Regions from separate parts of the Homo sapiens genome. Here all the other regions are linked to region 1. Evidence: promoter capture Hi-C in 16 types of primary human blood cells and fetal thymus (Javierre and others, 2016). All regions are on one chromosome and are shown on one strand. Each heading gives the region's core, a stretch centred on a gene start or on the middle of the fragment in contact. The rest is flanking DNA. Distances are from core to core; before and after follow the strand shown. Region 1 holds the start of NTF4 (neurotrophin 4). Region 2 overlaps LOC107985340 (a long non-coding RNA gene). Region 3 overlaps LOC107985340 (a long non-coding RNA gene). Region 4 overlaps SLC6A16 (solute carrier family 6 member 16).

The links. The method cuts DNA at HindIII sites, captures the fragments that hold promoters and counts their contacts. A CHiCAGO score of 5 or more calls a contact.
Region 2: a fragment that was not itself captured here is called in contact with the fragment with the promoter of NTF4 in region 1 in 2 of 17 cell types (M2 macrophages and erythroblasts); the score reaches 5.8 in M2 macrophages.
Region 3: a fragment that was not itself captured here is called in contact with the fragment with the promoter of NTF4 in region 1 in 3 of 17 cell types (endothelial precursors, M0 macrophages and erythroblasts); the score reaches 7.7 in endothelial precursors.
Region 4: a fragment that was not itself captured here is called in contact with the fragment with the promoter of NTF4 in region 1 in 3 of 17 cell types (erythroblasts, M1 macrophages and endothelial precursors); the score reaches 5.9 in erythroblasts.

The regions. Positions count from the first base shown.
Region 1 is chr19:49,062,646-49,066,133 of GRCh38, reverse strand. It overlaps NTF4 (neurotrophin 4), which reads left to right and starts at 1,316. Exons shown (of 2, transcript NM_006179.5): 1 at 1,316-2,395. The HindIII fragment of the contact is 7,079 bases long and covers 1-3,488 here.
Region 2 is chr19:49,245,801-49,249,302 of GRCh38, reverse strand. The region is part of intron 2 of LOC107985340 (a long non-coding RNA gene); the gene reads right to left. Among named protein-coding and RNA genes, the nearest start is that of MIR4324, 61 kb to the left of the region's middle. The HindIII fragment of the contact is 8,311 bases long and covers 1-3,502 here.
Region 3 is chr19:49,226,248-49,229,570 of GRCh38, reverse strand. The region is part of intron 1 of LOC107985340 (a long non-coding RNA gene); the gene reads right to left. Among named protein-coding and RNA genes, the nearest start is that of TRPM4, 70 kb to the right of the region's middle. The HindIII fragment of the contact is 825 bases long and covers 1,443-2,267 here.
Region 4 is chr19:49,287,737-49,291,107 of GRCh38, reverse strand. It overlaps SLC6A16 (solute carrier family 6 member 16), which reads left to right. Exons shown (of 12, transcript NM_014037.3): 11 at 341-503; 12 at 716-1,470. The coding sequence ends at 985. Among named protein-coding and RNA genes, the nearest start is that of MIR4324, 19 kb to the left of the region's middle. The HindIII fragment of the contact is 6,288 bases long and covers 1-3,371 here.

The DNA.
Region 1 (3,488 bases), core at 67-2,566:
CTGAGGGGGTGTGGGATGACCCTCGAGGCAGGTGTCAGTTTTCCTTCTGAAAATAGCGCAGGCGGAGGGGAGCGGAGTCTCAGGGTAGAGGTGTGGTGGGGTGAGGAGCCCCGCTGCCCTCATGACTGTCCTGAGACACTCCGGCTCCGGTCCCATCCCTGTCTTTCTCAGGGTCTCTCAGGGGCTCTGTCCCCTTCTCGGGGGGGTGGGGGGGTCTGCCCTCACGCTCTCTGGGCCTCTGTCTTCTCTCTGGGCTCCTGCCCTCCCCCACTCTCTCTAGTCTCGGTCCCCCTCTTTCTTTTGGTCTCTCCCCACTTTTCCATGTCTTCTCCCTATCTCTCCCTTCATGTCACCGCGCACCATTTCTCAAGGTAGCTGATTGTTCTTAAGACACATCTGTCTATCTCTGGTCCTATGATACCTTGCACGTCTCTTATCTGAGCTCAGGACAAGACCTTCTCCCCGGTCCCCAGCCAGGAAATTCCAGGGGAGAGGAGTATGCGGGAGCCCCCACATCCACTGTCTCCCCGGGCCTGGGGCCTTATCACTGCCCAAGCCCAGCTGGTTAATGTCTGGCGTGGAGCTCCTGGGAAGTGGGGAGGAGAGCAGAGGGTGGGAATCTGCCCCGGGATTGACACGCAATTGGCAAAAGACGGCAAAGGAATCTCAGGCCCAGACTCCTGGGGCTAATGGAGGAGGAGGCTGGGGGCTGGACTCCTGAGTCTGAGACGGGGCGGGGTTGGGAGGTGGTGGGGGGAACTGTGGGCTTAGTACTCAGGCGCCTGGGGCTGGGGGGAGAGGTGGCTGGGGTCGCAAGTCCTGGGTCTGAGGGAGGAGGGGCCGGATGCCTGGACTCCTGGGTCTGAAGGGAGGAGGGGCTGGGGGCCTGGACTGCTAGGTCCAAAGGAGGAGGCAGCTGGAAACTGGGACTCCTGTGACCAAGGCGGCCGCGTTGAACGAGCCAGGCCTGGCTTCCAAGGTCCCGGCACGCGAGTGCAAGGCAGGATCCCCCGGCCCCTCCTCTGCCGCCCGGCGCCGCCCCGCCCCCGCCCCCGACCCGGGCCCTGCGGAGCGTGAGCAGCTAGCACCCGGCGGGCCAGCGAGCGTCCCTGCAGCCAGCGAGCAGGAGGAGGAGCTGCTGCCGGGCGGAGGGCAGCCGCGGGAGCCGAAGAGGGCGCCCCAGGTAAGATCTCCACTCCTCCTCCCTCGGGATTCCGGCGTCCTGGTCGCCCTGCCCTCGGGTGGGGAGGGACGGGGGCGGGGCCGACCGGGGCGGGGCTTGGCGGAGGAAACTGAGGCAAGAGGGAAGTGTCCCAGATATGCAGCCGGTTTCCCCTGAGGGGTCTCGGAGTCCGGAACCCCCAACCCAAATCTGGAGGATGAGGAACCCGGAGTCTGCATTTCTTAGTATCCGAGAAGGAGGGGCCTGAATTCCAGAACTCCTGGGTCTGAGAGAGGAGGGCACTGGGGGCCTGGATTCCTGGGTCTGAGGGAGAAGGGCGCTGGGGGCATGGACTCCTGGGTCTGAAGGAGGAGGGCGCTGGGGACCTGGACTCCAGGGTCTGAGGGAGAAGGGTGCTGGGGGCCTGGGCCTGGACTCCTCCTGGGTCTGAGGGAGAAGGGTGCTGGGGGCCTGGACTTCTGGGTCTGAGAGAGGAGGGCGCTGGGGGCCTGGACTACTCCTGGGTCTGAGGGAGGAGGGCGCTGGGGATCTGAACTCCTGGGTCTGAAGGTGGAGGCCCTGGGGTCTGCACTACTCGGTCTGAGGGAGAAGGCGGTCCTGGTTGGGTCAGCCTGGGCTCCTTTCACTCTCCACCCTTCCCCTTTCCTGTACCGAGGAGCCAGGGCAGGCAGCCACTCCAGGTATGTGCAGAAGTCTTGGGCGGGCCCTGGCCTGTCCTGTGAGGAGGGAACATTCCAGGAAGCAGCTTGGGGAACCAGGGCTTCTTGAGTGTGGGCCCTCAGGGACCCGGGTGTCCAGGCCAGTTCCGCCCCATCTGGGAGATGAATGGGCCGAGGGGGATGTAATCTCTTCCAGCCTCCTTCATCCACTGCCTCTCCCTTCCCCTATTCTCCCTTCCCCTCCCTCCATCTGCTTCCCATCCCAGCCAGGAGCCATCACCTGGGTAGAAAAGGGGCCTCTGGAAAGGGGGCGGGGCCTTGACTCTTGGGTACCCTGCACTTGAAGAGGAACTCTGGGAAGGGGTTGTTCAGGGATTTGGCCCCTTCCCCACCTGCCTCTATAACCTGTCTATTCTTTTCTTCCCCTAGGTGGTTGCCCCCTCCCTCTCCTGAGATGTCAGGAAGGAGGGGGCCACCTGTGTCCTCCACAGGGGCCCCCCGAAGCCTGGGGACTCCCAGCCCCAGAGCTCCGAGGCGGAGGAGGTGCTGACAGGTCTGGTAACTACTGACTGTTTCCCAGTCTTCTCCACGCCACCCTTTCCCAGAACCACAGGCTTCCAGAATGTTGTAGGGAAACTGCAAAATCCGCGCCTCCACCAGCCTCTCCCAGCGCCAGGTCAATTTCACACACAGGGAAACTGAAGCCTGCCTCAGAGGGGCAGCGTTTTACCTCCTTAGTGGCAGTTTTGAGGTGAACTGGGGTCTCCCTAGGATTCCAGGTTGTGACCTTTCTCTAAATTGTGGAATGTGGCCAGGCGTGGTGGCTTGAGTCTGTAGTCCCAGCTACTCAGGAGGCTGAGGCAGGAGAATGCCATGAACTTGGGAGGCGGAGCTTGCAGTGAGCCAAGATCGTGCCACTGCACTCCAGCCTGGGCGACAGAGGGAGATTCCATCTCAAAAAAAAAAAAAAAAAAATTTTGTTTGGGACCAGGCATGGTGGCTTATGCTTGTAATCCCAGCACTTTGGGAGGCCAGGACACGACTATTGCTTGAGGTTGGGAGTTCAAGACCAGTCTGGCCAACATGGTGAAACCCCATCTCTATTAAAAATACAAAAATTAGCTGGGCACAGTGGCAGGTGCTTGTAATCCCACCTACTCAGAAGGCTGAGGCAGGAGAATCACTTGAACCCAGGAGGCAGACATTGCAGTGAGCCAGGATTGTGCCACTGTACTCCAGCCTGGCCAACAGAGTGAGATTCTGTCTCAAAAAAAAAAAATTGTTTGGAACATCCTCCAAGATGCAAGACTGTCGGTTCCTCAGAGTTGCACAGGAAGGACGGCAGAGTGCAGTTGCCCAGAGGTGAAGTCCCATCTCTGCCATTTGCTGGCTGTGTGACCGGGCACAAATCATTAACTTCTCTGAGCCTGTATTTCAACATCTGTTACTGTTAAGTAATAGTAGTTGAATTATTTTTATTTTTATTTTATTATTATTATTGTTTTTTAAGACGGAGTTTCGCTCTTGTTGCCCAGGCTGGAGTGCAATGGTTCAATCTCAGCCCACCACAACCTCCACCTCCTGGGTTCAAGTGATTGCCCTGCCTCAGCCTCCCAAGTAACTGGGATTACAGACATGCGCCACCA
Region 2 (3,502 bases), core at 390-2,889, 180 kb before region 1:
CTCATCTCTACTAAAAATATAAAAATTAGCTAGGTGTGGTGGCATGTGCCTGTAATCCCAGCTACTCAGGAGGCTGAGGCAAGAGAATCGCTTGAAGCCAGGAGGTGGAGGCTGCGGTGACCCAGCCTGCACAACAGAGACTCTAAAACAAAAGGAGCACCATCATAGATCTTGATGACATCAAAATAATAATGGAATATTATGATCAAAATTATACCTATAAGTTCAACTTAAACACCTTGCAAGGTACAAATTACAAAGACTGATGCAAGTAGAAAATCTAAATAGCCCCATTTCTGAGTTTAAAAGTTAAATTTGGCCAGGCGCAGTGGCTTGTGCCTGTAATCACAGCACTTTGGGAGGTGGGTGGATCACTTCAGGTCAGGAGTTTGAGACCAGCCTGGCTAACATGATGAAACCCCATCTCTACTAAAAATATAAAAATTAGCCGGGCGTGGTGGCAGGCGCCTATAATCCCAGCTACTCGGGAGGCTGAGGCAGGAGAATAGCTTGAACCCAGGAGGCGGAGGTTGCAGTGAGCTAAGATCACGCCCTCCAGCCTGGGCGACAGAACGAGAGACTGTCTCAAAGTATATTAGCAAATTTAATCCACAAACAAAGTGGATACAGTATAAGCAAGTGGTTTTATCCCAGAAATTAATGTAACTTATTACATTAATAGATTAAAGGGAAGAACCATTTGACAAAATTCAACACCTATTATTGGAGGAAAAAAAACCTGCAACAAACTAGAAATACAACAGAACTTCCTCCATGTGCTGGGCAGAGATTCTCTACCTGAACATGATGGGGATTTTGCCCAGAAAATTCTTTGCTGGGGTGGGGAGAGGCTGTGCTGTGCATCCTAGAATGCTTGGCAGTGTTCCTAGCCTTCACCCTCAAGATGCCAGCATCAACGCTCCCCACTCAGCTGTTTGTGACAATGAAAAATGTCACATGACAGGCCAAGTGCAGTGGCTCACGCCTGTAATACCAGCACTTTGGGAGGCCGAGGTGGGCGGATCATGAGGTCAGGAGATCGAGACCATCCTGGCTAACATGGTGAAACCCTGTCTCTACTAAAAATACAAAAAATTAGCCAGGCGTGGTGGCGGGCGCCTGTAGTCCCAGCTACTCAGGAGGCTGAGGCAGGAGAATGGCGTGAACCCGGGAGGCGGAGTTTGCAGTGAGCCGAGATCACGCCACTGCACTCCAGCCTGAGTGATAGAGCGAGACTCAGTCTCAAAAAAAAAAAAAAAAAAAAAAAAAAAAAAGTCATATGACATTACCAAATGTCCCTGGAAGAGGTGGGAAATCACCCTCGGTTGAGAATCATTCATTGTGTTAAGGATATTAACAACAATGACAAAAGCTACAGCTAACATCATACTAAATGATGAAATACTGAATACTTTCCCCAATACTGAAAACAGGGAAGGGAAATCCCTTTACACCACTTCTGTTCAACACTATAGTGAAGTTCCTAGCCAGTGAAAGAAGGCAAGAAAAAGATATAAAAAGCATAGAAACTGGCTAGGAAGAAGTAAAACTGTCTTTATTCACAGATGTCATAAGCATGTAATTAGGAAATCCTAGGGAATCTACAAAAATAAAAAGCTACTAGAATAAGTGCACTTAGGAAAGTCACAAAAATAAAAGCCAATATACAAAAATAATCACATTTCTGCATACTAGCAACAAACCATAGTTAAGTGAAATTTTAAAAACAAAACCATTTACAATAGCCTCAAAAATCAAATGCTAAGACTATATTTAACAAAAGATATTCAAAAATCTCTATACTGAAAACTACAAGGTATTTTTGAGAGAAAAACCTAAATAAATGGAAATATTTGTTTATGAATTCAAAGAATTGGTGTAGGCCGGGCGTGGTGGCTCACGCCTGTAATCCCAGCACTTCGGGAGGCCGAGGTGGGTGGATTACTTGAGCTCAGCAGTTTGAGACCAGCCTGGCCAACATGGTGAAACCCTGTCTCTACTAAAAATACAAAAAAATTAGCTGGGCATGGTGGTACACACCTGTAATCCCAGCTACTCAGGAGGCTGAGGTAGGAGAATCGCTTGAGCCTGCGAGGCAGAGGCTGCAGTGAGCCGAGATCGCACCACTGCACTCCTGCATGGGTAACAGAGTAAGACTCTGTCTCAAAAAACAAGATATCAGTTCTCCCCAAATTGATCTACAGATTCAACACAATGGCAATTCAGATCTCAGCCAGGTTTGTTGAGGAATTGACAAGCTGATTCTAAAATGTACATGAAAATGCAAAGGACCGGCCGGGTGTAGTGGCTTATGCCGGTCATCCCAGCACTTTGGGAGGCCAAGGCAGGAGGATCACCTGAGGTCAGGAGTTTGAGACCAGCCTGGCCAACATGAGGAAACCCCATCTCTACTAAAAAATAATTAGCCAGGCGTGGTATCGGGTGCCTGTAATTTCACTTAGGAGGCTGAGGCAGGAGAATTGCTTGAACTCAGTAGGCAGGGAGGTTGCAATGACCTGAGATCACACCACTGCACTCCAGCCTGGGCAATGGAGCAAGACTCCATCTCAAAAAAAAAAAAAAAAAAAAAATGCAAAAGACCTAAAGTAGTCCAAACAATCTTGAGAAAGAACACGTTGGAGACTCATACTATCGAATTTCAAGATTTACTATAAAGCTACAGTAGTCAGGGCAGTGTTATATTAGCCTAAAGATAAACCAAAAGATCAATAGAACAGAACAGAAATCCACCTATACACATATGACCAATTGATGTTCAGTAAAGATATCACAGCAATTCAATGGGTAAGGGAAAGTCTTTTTAACAAACAGGGCTAGAACTACTGTATAGCCATATAGAAAAATATAAACATATTCCTGCCACATACCATACCCCCACCCCAAATTAACAGGAACCAAAGACCTAAATTCAAAAGCCAAAACTAGAAACTTCCGGAAGAAAACATAGAATATCTTTATGACCTCGGGCTTAGCAAAGATGTTCTATATTAAATGTAACAGGCCAGACACAAATGTCTATGTATTGTGTGAATCTATTATCTATGAAACCCAAGAACAGGTCAGACTTATATGTAGTGATGGAAATCAGTCATTGCTTCTGGGGTGAAGAGAAAGGAACCCAAAGTAACTCTCTGGAGTGACGGAAATTGGGGCATTGGTGACAGGGGTCATTTGTCAAAACTCATTAAAGTATACATTTAGTATCTGTGCTTGTTGTCTGTAAATTATAGCTCAATAAAAACTGAGTTTTGGCCAGGTGTGGTGGCTCACGCCTGTAATCCCAACACGTTGGGAGGCCAAGACAGGAAGATCGCTTGAGCTCAGGGGTTTGAGACTAGTCTGGGCAACATAAGGAGACCGTGTCTCTACAAAAAAAAAAAAAAAATTAGCTGGTCATGGTGGCACATGCCTGTGGTCCCAGCTACTCAAGATGCTGGGCGTGAGGATCGCTTGGGCCCGGGAGGCCAAGGCTGCAGTGAGC
Region 3 (3,323 bases), core at 606-3,105, 160 kb before region 1:
CCCACCCCCAGACCCGCATCATCTTAGCTTCTGGCAAGTTTTCAAATGACTCTGACACCCATCAGCCACTCTGATTCATCTAACTAACAGGCTGGAATAAAATCACTTCAGGCCAGGCATGGTGGCTCACACCTGTAATCCCAGCACTTTGGGAGGCTGAAATCACTTGAGGTCAGGAGTTTGAAACTAGCCTGGCCAACATGGGGCAACTCTTTCTCTACTAAAAATACAAAAAAACAGCCAGGTGTCGTGGTAGGTGCCTGTAATCCCAGCTACTTGGGAGGCTGAGGCAGAAGAATCGCTTAAACCTGGGAGGCAGAGGTTGCAATGAGCCAAGATTGTGCCATTGCACTCCAGCCTGGGCCACAGAGACTCCATCTCAAAAAAAAAAAAAAAAATCACTTCAATTTGTCTCATTCGGCCTTTAATTAAGGCTACTTTTGATGGGACTCCCAACAGCAAGATCAGGCCAACCTTGAGTATTGACCTCAACTCTCAACTATGTCCCCCAGGGTCCTAGACTCAGCCAACTGTGAATAAGTCTCAAGGTGGCTCATGCCTGTAATCCCTGCAGTTTGGGAGGCTGAGACCGGCAGATCATTTAATCTTAGGAGTTCAAGATCAGCCTGGGCAACGTAGTGAAGGCCCATCTCTACAAAAAATACAAAAACAATATTAGCCAGAAGTGGTGGCACACCTGTAATCCTAGCTACTTGGGAGGCTGAGGCGGGAGGATCCCCTGAACCCAGAAGGTTGAGGTTGCAGTGAGCCAAGATCACGCCACTGTACTCCAGCCTAGGTGACAGAGCAAGACCCTGTCTCTAATACAATAAAATTAAAATAAAAAAAAAATAAAAGTCCAGGTGTGGTGGCTCACGTCTGTAATCCCAGTACTTTGGGAGGCCGAGGAGGGGGAATCACCTCAGGTCAGGAGTTCAAGACCAGCCTGATCAACATGGAGAAACCACGTCTCTACTAAAAATACAAAATTAGCCGGGCATGGTGCCACATGCCTGTAATCGCAGCTACTTGGGAGGCTGAGGCAGAAGAATCGCTTGAACCCGGGAGGCAGAGGTTGCAACGAGCTGAGATCATGCCATTACACTCCAGCCTGGGCAACAAGAGTGAAACTCCATCTCAGAAAAAAAAAAAGTAAAAACTGGTCCCAGAGGACCAGTACATCTTATTTTGGACAACCAGGATATAGTCTAAGGCGACTCTATTGTCCATTATAAGCAGAGCAGAGAACTTTAGGCTGATCTGCTAAAATACCAAAAAAAGAAATTTAAAAATAAAAAAACTGATCTGATCTTTGATGTCTTTACAAACAATTACAGGGTGACAACAGATGAGCCTAAAAGCAACCCCCATCCACAATGGGCATGCCACAGCTTACCTCCCCAACCTGAGAAGAGACAGTCATTGGATTTTGTTGTTAAGCTTGGCTGGAATTACCGTTACATTGTCTCAGTTAAGCCACATAAGTAATATCAGCAGGTTGTTTCAACTAACACAGGAGTGAGCCAACTTTTTCTGGAAAGAACCAGGTAATAGTATTTTGGGTTTTGTAGGGCATTTGTTTTCTGTGGCATAGTCATCTTTTTCTTTTTTCTTTTTGAAACAAGATCTTGCTCTGTCACTGAGGCTGGAGAGCTGTGGTACAATAATATCTCACTGCAGCTTCGACCTCCCAGGCTCAAGCGATCCTCCCACCTCAGCCTCCCGAGTAGCTGGGACTACAGGCGTGCACCAGCACACCCAGCTAATTTTTAATTTTTTGTAGAGACAGGCTTTCACCACATAGCCCAGGCTAGTCTTGATCTCCTGGGCTCAAGTGATCCTTCTGCTTCAGCCTCCCCAAGTGCTAGGATTACAGAGGTGAGCCACCACACCTGGCTTTTTTTTTTTTTTTTTTTTTTTAAACAATTCTTGGCTGAGCCGTGGCTCACGCCTGTAATTCCAGCACTTTGGGAGGCTGAAGCAGGTGGATCACTTGAGGTCAGGAGTTCAAGACCAGGACGGCCAACATGGAGAAACCCCGTCTCTACTAAAAATACAAAAATTAGCCGGGCATGGTGGCGGGCACCTTTAATCCCAGCTACTCGGGAAGCTGAGGCAGGAGAATGGCGTGAACCCAGGAGGCGGAGCTTGCAGTGAGCCAAGATCATACCACTGCTCTCCAGCCTGGGCGACAAAGCGAGATTCCATCTCAAAAACAACAACAACAACAACAACAACAACACATTCTTTAAAATATATGAAAAGCTTTGTTAGTTTATAGACCACACAGAAACAGGTCACAGGCCAGATGTATCCCACAGGCTATAGTGTGCCAACTCCTGATCTAGCACCATGTCGGTCCAACAAGGGGATTCTGGTGCCTAAACCAGCATTAGTTTGAATCCCCTACTTGGCCCCCTCAGGACTCAACTGCCATCTGGAGGGCATGACCACCAGGCTGTCCAGCGGAAAGAAAGATGCATCATTCCCAACAATGGTCAGCGGGCAAAATTGTACTTTTTTTTTGAGACGGAGTCTTGCTCTGTCACCCAGGCTGGAGTGCAGTGGTGTGATCTCGGCTCACTGCAAGCTCCGCCTCCCGGGTTCATGCCATTCTCCTGCCTCAGCCTCCTGAGTAGCTGGGACTACAGGCGCCCGCCACCAAGCCCGGCTAATTTTTTGTATTTTTAGTAGAGACGGGGTTTCACCATGTTAGCCAGGATGGTCTCGATCTCCTGACCTCGGGTCTCTGTAACTCCTCCAACACTTCTGTCTCAGGGACTATCCAAGATGCAGCCAAGAAGAGATGAAGCCTCTTCTGGGACTGCCACATTCAGTGACCAAACGGCCTGAGTAAAGTGTGTGCGGCCGGGTGTGGTGGCTCACGCCTGTGATCCCCCCACTTTGGGAGGCCAAGACGGGTGGATCACTTGAGGTCAGGGGTTCGAGACCAGCTGGCCAACATGGTGAAACCTATCTCTACTAAAAATACAAAAATCACCTAGGCATGGTGACGCCTATAATCCCAGCTACTTGGGAGGCTGAGGCAGGAGAATCGCTTGAACCCAGGAGGCAGAGGTTACAGTGAGCCGAGATGGCACCACTGCACTCCAGCCTGAGCAACAGAGCATCTGTCTCAAAAAATAAATAAATAAAGTGTGTGGATCAGGAAGAGGTAGGAAGGGGAAACCAGAAACCTTTTTGAGCTGATTCTTGAGGAAGATGATCCAACAATCAATAATACCAGACACCCGCAGATAGTGAGGAAGTTACAAAGTCCCATTGAATACCTTAAATATCAACCAAACTGCAATCAATGTCTT
Region 4 (3,371 bases), core at 30-2,529, 230 kb before region 1:
GTGTTGTTCACTGCTGGATATCCAGCACTTAGAAGAGTTCCTGGCACATCATAGACATTCTCATATTTATGGGATGAATGAAAGAGACTTGGCCTTTCTCCTGAGGCCATTGGATACCCATGGAAAGTTCTTGAGCAGGAGAGGGGTGTTTGGAAAAGTTTCTTGGGTTAGGATAGAAGACAGACTGACTAGGGGGAAGATGAGAGAGGACAAGACTTGAGATGAAACAGGAGATTAGAGATACAATAGAATGTTTGAAAGATGCCAAGGTTGGGCTGGCCCTGCCTCCAAGGTGGTGAGGCCTAACTGGGCATCCCACACTCTGGTGGCCCTTCTCCAGGTTCCTTGCAGACCTGACGATCCTGTTGGGCCACCCCATCTCTCCCATCTTTGGTTGGCTGTGGCCCCATCTGTGTCCAGTTGTGCTGCTAATCATCTTTGTGACCATGATGGTTCATCTTTGTATGAAGCCGATCACCTACATGTCCTGGGACTCAAGCACCGTGAGCCTCCCCCAGGACCCAGAACCCCTTTGGGAGTAGGGGCCAGACCTTTCAATTCACTCTGGGTGAAAGAACCCAGTCATCTCATTCTCTTACTGCCCGAAGACTCATGGGTTTTCTGCTTTGGTTCCCCACCCATCCTTCCCCTCCACAACTCTTCCTTTTCTCTTGGGGATTTTGATATTCTGAACCCTTTTCCCATCTCTCCACAGTCAAAAGAGGTGCTTCGACCATACCCACCGTGGGCACTGCTCTTGATGATCACCCTTTTTGCCATTGTCATCCTCCCCATCCCTGCATACTTTGTATACTGCCGCATACATAGGATTCCCTTCAGGCCCAAGAGCGGAGACGGGCCTATGACAGCCTCCACATCCCTACCCCTAAGTCACCAGCTAACACCCAGTAAAGAGGTTCAAAAGGAAGAAATTCTACAAGTTGATGAAACAAAGTACCCATCAACTTGTAATGTGACTTCCTAACTTCATTAATTTGGCTTCACATAACATATCCCTTAGAACAGATCCAATAGACAACTCTTAATATCAGCTTGCAACTGTTGATCTCCCTGGATCCAGAACCACTTTTATTTCCAAGAGGAGGGGCATTCTTTGGGGGTGTTCATGGGGCCTGGACTTGCAATCCCTTCCTGGGTCCCATCTTACCTGGTGACCACCATCATTGTTTTCCCCATCCTCTTCCTCAACACACATACATGCACAACACATATACAATACTAGTGATGTCTACCAGTCCTGCTACTTCTGGGGTGCCTGTCTCCTGGAATGGAGCTGGAGGAGCAATGCTGTTGGTGAATAAATCAGTCTACTGGAACTCCAAGGACTGGATGTAAGCAGATCTTTTTTTCCTATAGATGTCTCAGATGTTCAGTTTTCCTGTCACAAGGCTTCCAGTCTGTATTAGTTCATTTTCACACTGCTAATAAAGACATACCTGAAACTGGGAACAAAAAGAGGTTTAACTGGACTTACAGTTCCACATGGTTGGGGAGGCCTCAATCATGGTGGGAGGTGAAAGGCATTTCTTACATGATGGCAGCAAGAGAAAAAAATGAGGAAGAAGCAAAAGTGGAAACCCCTGATAAACCCATTAGATCTCATGAGACTTATTCACTATCACGAGATTAGGATGGAAAAGACCAGCCCCCATGATTCAATTACCTCCCCTGGTTCCCTCCCATAACACGTGGGAATTCTGGGAGATATAATTGAAGTTTATATTTAAATGGAGACACAGTGAAACCATATCATTCTGCCCCTGGCCCCTCCAAATCTCATGTCCTCACATTTCAAAAGCAATCATGCCTTCCCAACAGTCCCCCAATGTCTCAACTCATTTCAGCATTAATCCAAAAGTCCAGAGTGTCATCTGAGACAAGGCAAGTCCCTTCCACCTATGAGCCTGTAAAATCAAAAACAAGCTAGTTACTTCCTAGATACAATGGGGGTACTGGTATCAGGTAAATACAGCCATTCCAAATGAGAGAAATTGGCCAAAACAAAGGGGTTACAGGGCCCATGCAAGTCCAAAATCTAGCAGGGGAGTCAAATTTTAAAGCTCCATAATGATCTCCTTTGACTCCAGATCTCACATCCAGGTCATGCTGATGCAAAAGGTGGGTTCCCATGGTCTTAGGCAGCTCCACCTCGTGGCTTTGCAGGGTACAGTCCCCCTTCCAGCTGCTTTCACGGGCTGGTGTTGAGTGTGGCTTTTCCAAGCTCAGGGTGCAAGCTGTCAGTGGTTCTACCATTCTGGGGTCTGGAGGACAGTGGCCCTCTTCTCACAGCTCCACTAGGCAGTGCCCCAGTAGGGACTCTGACTCTGTGTGAGGGCTCTGACCCCACGTTTCCCTTCTGCATTTCCCTCCCTGGCAGAGGTTCTGCATGAGGGCTCTGCCCCTACAGAAAACTTTTGCCTGGACATCCATGCATTTCCATATATCTTCTGAGATCTAGGCGGAGGTTCCCAAACCTCAATTCTTGACTTCTGTGCACCCGCAGGCTCAACATCACGTGGAAGCTGCCAAGGCTTGGGGCTTCTACTCTCTGAAGCCACAGCCCGAGCTGTACGTTGGCCCCTTTCAGCCATGGCTGGAGTGGCTGGGACACAGGGCACCAAGTCCCTAGGCTGCACACTGCATGGGGACCCTGGGCCTGGCCCACAAAACCACTTTTTCCTCCTGGGCCTCTGGGCCTGTGATGGGAGGGGCTGCCATGAATGTCTCTGATATGGCCTGGAGACATTTTCCCCATGGTCTAAGGGATTAACATTAGGCTCCTTGCTACTCATGCAAATTTCTGCAGCTGGCTTGAATTTCTCCTCAAAAATGGATTTTTCTTTTCCACTGCATCATCAGGCTGCAAATTTTCTGAACTTTTATGCTGTTTCCCTTTTAAAACGGAATGCTTTTAACAGCACGCAAGTCACCTTCTGAATACTTTGCTGCTTAGAAATTTCTTCTGCCAGATACACTAAATCATCTCTCTCAAGTTCAAAGTTCCACAAATCTCTAGGGCAGGGGCAAGATGCCACTAGTCACTTTGCTAAAACATAATAAAGAGTCATCTTTGCTCCAGTACCCAACAAGTTCCTCATCTCCATCTGAGACCACCTCAGCCTGGACCTTATTGTTCATATCAGCATTTTTGTCAAAACCATTCAGTAGGTCTTCAGGAGGTTCCAAACTTTCCCACATTTTCCTGTCTTCTTCTGAGCCCTCCAAACTGTTCCAACCTCTGCCTGTTACCCAGTTCCAAAGTTGCTTCCATATTGTTGGGTATCTTTTCAGCAACACCCCACTCTACTGGTACCAGTTTACTGTATTAGTTTTCATGCTGCTGATAAATA